Regions from separate parts of the Homo sapiens genome. Here region 1 is linked to region 2. The links are contacts of gene promoters, found by promoter capture Hi-C in human tissues and cell types (Jung and others, 2019). All regions are on one chromosome and are shown on one strand. Each heading gives the region's core, a stretch centred on a gene start or on the middle of the fragment in contact. The rest is flanking DNA. Distances are from core to core; before and after follow the strand shown.

The links. Contacts are between HindIII fragments. The study calls those that stand out against the background at their distance.
Region 1: a contact is called between a fragment that was not itself captured here and the fragment with the promoter of POU2F3 in region 2, in 2 of the 25 tissues and cell types used here (dorsolateral prefrontal cortex and thymus).

The regions. Positions count from the first base shown.
Region 1 is chr11:119,589,529-119,593,012 of GRCh38, forward strand. No RefSeq gene overlaps it. Among named protein-coding and RNA genes, the nearest start is that of NECTIN1-AS1, 120 kb to the right of the region's middle. The HindIII fragment of the contact is 7,169 bases long and covers 1-3,484 here.
Region 2 is chr11:120,238,144-120,241,751 of GRCh38, forward strand. It overlaps POU2F3 (POU class 2 homeobox 3), which reads left to right and starts at 1,997. Exons shown (of 13, transcript NM_014352.4): 1 at 1,997-2,228. The coding sequence starts at 2,201. The HindIII fragment of the contact is 19,243 bases long and covers 1-3,608 here.

The DNA of each region.
Region 1 (3,484 bases), core at 703-3,202, 650 kb before region 2:
ACACAGGTTGGGAGGATGCTCTTTGGTGTGGGAAGGAACTTGATAGTCTGTAGAGGGATGTGCAGATGTGAGTTGTTATTCCTACTCCTGTCTTGCAGGAAGTGGGATGCCTGGCCAGACACCTCAGCATCCATATCACTCATCAAACCACCCCCACCCCTGCACATACAGGTGCATGTTCCATGGTAAACCAAAACAACAGCCTCAAAAACAACCAACAAAAACTGAAGTTGTGATATGTATCCACGTGGGTTCCTCCCAATCCAACAAAAGTTAGACTTGGGCCTCTAGGACTCATTCCAGTGAGGACCCTCTGAGCACTCATGAAAGCTTTCATGGGAGTCTGCAGGAGGGAAGGAGGGTGGAGGAGGGGCAGGATCTCTTCAAAGGGCAAATTAATGCATGCCAAGCTAACACATGCCAAGCACCATTACTGAGCATCCCCTGAATGCCCATATTTGCTGGACATTTCACAGGAGCCAAGACAACTCTGATGGGTTTTACAGTCATTGGAGATGATAAGTAAACCTTCCTTCAAACAGAGAAATAATGGGAAATAATGGGAAACAGATTGCAGTACACACAATTGGAGAAGGAAGGAAGCTGTTTTCAGAGCCCTAGGCCCATCCCATCAAACAATGGTGCTCCAAGGGTAAATTGAGTTCTCTTTGGCTGGGCAGAGAGCATGAGGCCAAGAGGGAAAGATATTGGGGTGCCGAGCATCACAGCAGGCTCCCTTTCTGCCTTCCCACACCAGTCCCCTGACACCGACTGGATGTCACTCAATTCAATTCAATTCAATTCAATTCAATTCAATTCAATTCAATTCAATTCAATTCAATCCAATTCAATTCTGACATCAGCTACCTGGCGTTAGCACAAATCCCACAGGTTAAGGGGCTTAGTCCCGCAAGACTGCCCACTTCAGGTACCAACTACAAGTCCTGGGTGTCCTCAAGCCACTCACACTTCTGCCTGCCCAGCTATAAATTCGGGGGTTCCTCTACACCCTCATTTTGGGTTGATAAAGAATGACTCAGAGAACTCACTGGAAGCATTATATTTACAATTACCATTTTATTGTAAAAGATACAAATAAACAGCCTGATGAACATGCACACACAGCAAGGTCTGGAAGAGTCCCAAGCACAAAAGCTTCTGTTGGAGTCAGGGTGTGCCACCCTTCTGGTATGCCAATATTAGTATGTTTACCAACCAGGAAGTTCTCCAAGCCTTGTTGTTCAGAGTTTCTGTTGAGGTTTCATTATGTAAGCATGATTGATTTAATCATTGGCCATGTGACTGGACTCCATCTCCATCTTTTCCTGGAGGTGGAAGGGAGAGGGGAGGGGCTGAAAGTTCCAACTCTTTAATCCCTTGGTTGGTTTTCCTGAGAACCAGCCTCTGTTCTGAAACTGTCTAGGGGATCTGCTGTGAGTCATCTCATTAGCATAAACTCAGGTGTGGCTGAAAAGGGCTCATTATGAATAACAAAAGACATTCCTGTCATTCAAACTTCTGAGGGTTTTTGAAGCTCTGTGCCAGGAACCTGGGACAAAGACTAAATATATTATTTTTGACTTTATCCCACTTTCCTACTCACAGAGAAGAAGGAAGAGAATGGGGGAGCATCCTGAGTGTTTCGTGACTTCATTGTGGGAGGAGGCGCCGGAACTGTATGAGTGGTTGAAGGAAAGTATGAAGAAAACAGAATCACAGATCATCTTTACTTAACTGGAGGTCTATCCTACAGAAGAGGGAGCCTCTGCCAGGAGGAATTTGGACCAATGAGCGAAAGTAATGGGAAACCAGTTTTCAGCAGGAGCTGATAGGGTGGGCTGCCTTGAGAAGTAATAAGCTCCTAGAGAATATTTTAACAGAGCTGAATGCAAGTTCCATGTGAGCATCAACTCAGTCGGACTTGACTTCTGCTGTGTGCCTGGGGCCTGAATATTACCTGACAAACAGTAGATGCTTACTAAATATTTGGTAAATATTTGTTGAATGCACATTTGTGGAGGAGAAGGGAAGGTAGTTTAAATAACATGAAAACCTAGGCCCAGTCATAAGTCTTTAGTATCCAGCCGTTGTGCTGGCTTTTGAGGCAAAAAACAAAAAAACAAAAAATTCTTCTTAAGAAGCTCACCACAGTAAGTGCTGTAAGTGGGGAGATAGACATTTATGTCTAGAGCAAAGTTTAATAACAAACAAATCAGTTCCAGTTAAAGATGGCAAGTTGAACCCATTCATTAGTTTACACTCCCCAAAGCCCATGGAAATAACAGTAAAAGGATTTTATTAAAAGGCATAAGCCCATCAGTTCAAAGGTGGAATGCAGATGGAGACTTCCAGTAAAGATGGTGAATTGAATGCACACAATTCATCTTGCTCTTCTTGAAAACCCTAAAGTGACTATAAAGGGATTTTTTAAAAATCAGAAACCCATAAAGGTGGAGATGAGACAGAAATTCGGCAGGACTTGTTTTACAAGATGCGGGTCACAAGGACACTGCTGATAAAACAGGATGTGGCAAAGAAGCCAGTCAAAACCTGCCAAAACCAAGATGGCAACAAAAGCAATCTCTGATTGTCCTCACTGCTCATTATATGCTAATTACAATGCATTAGCATGCTAAAGGCACTCTCACTAGCGCCATGACAGTTTACGAATGCCATCGCACATCCAGAAGTTACCTTATATGGTCTAAAAGAAGGAGGAACCCTCAGTTCTGGGAAATCTCTGCCCCTTTCCTGGAAAACTCATGAATAATCAACCCCATATTTAGCATATAATCAAGAATTAACTATAAATATAGCCGGCCAACAGCCCTCAAAGGCTGCTCTGCCTATGGAATAACCACCTTTTATTCCTTTAGTTTTCTTCTTTTTTTTTTTTTTGAGATGGAGTTTTGCTCTGTTGCCCAGGCTGGAGTGCAGTGGCACGATCTTGGCTCACTGCAACCTCCGCCTCCTGGGTTCAAGTGATTCTCCTGCCTCAGCCTCCCCAGTAGCTGGGATTACAGGTGCACGCCACCACGCCCTGCTAGTTTTTGTATTTTTAGTAGAGATGGGGTTTCTCCATGTTGGCCAGGCTGGTCTGGAACTCCTGACCTCAGGTGATCCACGTGCCTCGGCTTCCCAAAGTGCTGGGATTATAGGGGTGAGCCACCGTGCCCAGCCTATTCCTTTACTTTCTTAATAAACTTGCTTTCACTTTATTCTGCTTGCTCTTGAATTCCTTCCTGTGCTTGAATTTCTTCCTGCACAAAGCCAAGAACCCACGTGGCCTCCCGGGCTGAGCCCCAATTTTGGGGTTTGCCCTGTGCCAGAAATAATGGGAGAGAAGACAACAGCAGCCCAAGTTTGGAAACTGTAAAGCAATGAATGAGTAAACTGAGTAGACTGGGAAAAGCTGAAGCCCAAACTGAAAGAGGGGAAAGCTAAAAAGCCAATTCCCACCCCCTTTCTCCAAAACCCCTCCAGA
Region 2 (3,608 bases), core at 747-3,246:
GCAGGAGAATCGCTTGAACCTGGGAGGCGGAGATTGCCGTGAGCCGAGATGATGCCATTGCACTCCAGCCTGGGCAACAAGGTAGAAACTCCATCTCAAAAAAGAAAAAGAAAAAGAAGCAAGAAGAAGTTTCTCTCCTCCCTTCTTTTCGGGAGCGTGGGGAAGGGAGGTCCATGTGACTGGGGAGGGTGGTGTATGTGGACCTGAAGAAGCAATTAAGTGCTTCCTGTTCCTCTGGGGCCACTGTAGCACCCACAGAACACTTTCTGATACCTGTTGTGTGCCCAGCCCTGTTCTAGGTGCTGGGGTGCTGGCACTAGAATGAAGCAATTGATCAGTTACCAACCAGGGGGTAAGCTAAGAAAAGGCCCTCAGAACCTGCCACGAAGGCTGTTAAGAACATGGAACTTAGGCTGGGCGTGGTGGCTCACACATGTCATCCCAGCACTTTGGGAGGCTGAGGCGGGTGGATCACGAGGTCAGGAGATCGAGACCATCCTGGCAACGTGGTGAAACCCTGTCTCTCCTAAAAACACAAAAATTAGCTGGGTGTAGTGGCACGTGCTTATAGTCTCAGCCACTCAGGAGGCTGAGGAGAATCGCTTGAACCCAGGAGGTGGAGGTTGCAGTGAGCCGAGATTGCACCACTGCACTCCAGCCTGGCAACAGAGCAAGACTCTGTCTAAAAAAAAAAAAAAAAAAAAAAAAAAAAGAACACGGAACTTAAACTCTCTAAGCCTCATTTTCCCCATCTATAAAATGGCAATAATCATAGTACAATGTACAGGTTTTGAGGACTAAACAAGAACTAAAGGCACGAAAGATGCCTTTCAAGTGTTGGTCACCCCAGTGCTTGATACACAGTGAAGGCACACGAAATGCTGGGTGTTATCGTGGGCATGACTGGAGTGCACGGTGGGATGGGCGTGCCAGGGGGAAAGGACACTGTAAACAAGGTGTAGAGGCAGGAAAGCCCAAAACCTGTTCTGTGCTCAGAAAGTAGCCCATGGGACTAAGGAGAAGACATGTTCATGAGGAGTCCTGTCTGGGAAGGAAAGCGAGGCCCTGCCCTCCTGTCTGCACACAGCTTTCTGGGCTTCCATGCAGGCCATCCTGTGGTGACAGACCACTTACTGGGACTTGAAGAGACGAAGAGAAAGGGGTGAGCCTATGATGGGTGCTGCAAAGAGCACTGGAGTGGGAGTCCAGAGACCTGATTCCAGCCAGGCTCTGTCACTAGGGAAGTGTGCACCTTTGAGCAAGCCGCTTCCCCGCTCTGGAAGGTGGCTGTCACCAAAAGCCTGGGCACTGGTAACTTCCACATCCATCATCTCGTAGAGCCTCACAGCAACCTGGGACCTGGGGCGGGAGACTGGAGGGGCAAGCAGGAAGCAGTTGTGTGCACCTGGAAACTCTGCTAATAATAAACTGCACCCCGTCTAAATCCCACAATGCTGTGAGGATGCCATGGGGGCTAGGTGAGCTTGGTCACCTGCTCAGCCCAATAGGGAACCCGATTAGCACCTGTCCTGTTTTACAGGTGAGTTAAATGAGCTCAGGGAGGTGAAGAACCTTGTCCCAGCCACACTGCTGGTAAGCGGTTGGGAGGCGAGATTCCAAAACTGAATTCTTTCCAGCAGACCCCCGCGACTTCTCCAAACACTCCAACTCCTTGCAGCGCTTACACTTCGCGATCTGTCCAGAAGGAAGCTCGGGCTCAGGCTGGAGAACCCGCCAGGGCTTCCTAAAAAGGGCGAGCAGGACCAGGAGTTGGCGCCACTCCGGGCGCGGTGAGGAGGTGCTGCCAGGCTGGGTTGGAGCAGGCAGGTGTTCCGCGGGATCGAGACCCGCCCCGGCAGCACCCCCGGCCCCCTCCCCAGGTCCCCAGCTCCATGTATGCAAATCACTGCTTTGCATGGGCCTGGGGCCAGGCGCGGGGCTCCTGCCAGGGGGCGTGGCCGGCGGCCCCCGCCCCGCGCCGCGTGCTCACCTGGGGAGTGTGGCAATCCTGGCGGCGCCGAGTGTTGCCCGGGCCGGAGCAGCGGAGCGCGCGACAGTGGCGGCGACGGCTCCGGCAGCGGCTCCCGCGGCGGCGGCGGCCGGGAACTGGAGGAAGGAGACCCTGGCTTCGCAGGGGCCCCGGCTGGGGCAGAGGCGAGGGGCCTGGGGGGGCGCTGGCTTTGGCCCCGCCTGGGGCAGGATGGTGAATCTGGAGTCCATGCACACAGGTGAGGGGCGGAGGGAATGAGCTCTGACAGGTGTCACTGCGCGTGGGCAGGGGTGAAGGAGAGGGACAACGTTCTGGTTAGGGAGGGGGGCTTGTTTCCCAGCGGCCAGGAGAGGGCGGTGTGGATAGCGGGTTGTCCTGGGGTGGGTGCCGGTCAGTATTTGGGGACTAAAGGGAGGGGATCTGGGATAAGAAACCCTGGAAAAGAATGAGGGTGGGGGCTGGTGAAGGGCGGGAGGGCTTCGAAGCCCCCGGTCTGGGGAGTGGCAGTTGTATGGGACGTGGGTGTACTGAACTGTCATAGTCTCAGGAGGTTGCAGGGATGGGTGGTTCACTCACTCAGCCAGGGGTGTGGACCTGGGAGTGCATAAGTGAGGGAAATGTGTATGTCCACATGCTGTGTGCTGGTGTCCGGGCATATGTGTGAAATGGAGGCAAAGCGGACATTTAGGTGGTTGGGGGGCTTAGGAGAAGTGGCTGAGGTGGGGCAATTACAGAGGTGCCCCTGGGGCAGGGGCCATGCCCCCATGTGTTTGAGAAGGGATGGTGACAGACACATCCTCTGGGTTCCATGTCCCATGCCTTCCTTCCCTAAGGGGTGGAAACCTAGGAGATGCAAATGCTTTGCCGGGAGTCAGGCTTCCCTGAATGAATGAATGAGAGGTGGGCATGGAGGGAACCCAGCCCCTCCATTCACCTTGCTGTTCCTCCTTCCACAGCTGGGCTAAGGCAGGAGCTGCCAGGCAGCCAGGTTGGGCTTGGCTTGGGGCTTCCTGTTAGGGTGGGCCTTCTGGAGGTCACAGGGCCTGAGCAAAGAACAAGTGAAGAAAGCGGTACCTGACCTGGCCATTTCTAACCTAGCAACTTACTCTCAAAGTGGGCAGGACCCAGTGATCTTTCTTTAGGATTTCGGGGCTGTTGATGGGAATGTTGTTACCTGGTCTCCTTTCTGGGAGAGTAGGGAGGAGGCAATGCTCCAGACCCACCCCAAGAAGCAGAGCAGGCCTGAGGCCTACCCAGCCTGAAAACAAGCGTCAGTGAGTGCCCGGAGGGAGGGGACCTGGAGTGCCCAGTTCCCCAGATGCTGTTTCCTGGCAGGGCTGAGTGAGAGGCAGACTGGCAGTGAGATGTTGGCACTGAGTGGCTCTCCAGGACGTGCCAGAAAGGCTAGGTGAGGCGGAAGAAGCCATCCAACTGGGTGTCATCCAGAGTCTGAGGAAAGTCTGTTTCTAGACTGGGCATACCTGGGGCAGATCCCCGGGTAGGTGCTCTCCCCTTCACTGCCCGCAGAGAAGGCCAGGGTTTGAATGGGAGCAAGTCTCTTCAGAAAGGTGGGCTTAGCAGTGGATGGGAAGTTTTTTAGCACCAAGATCACAGACTT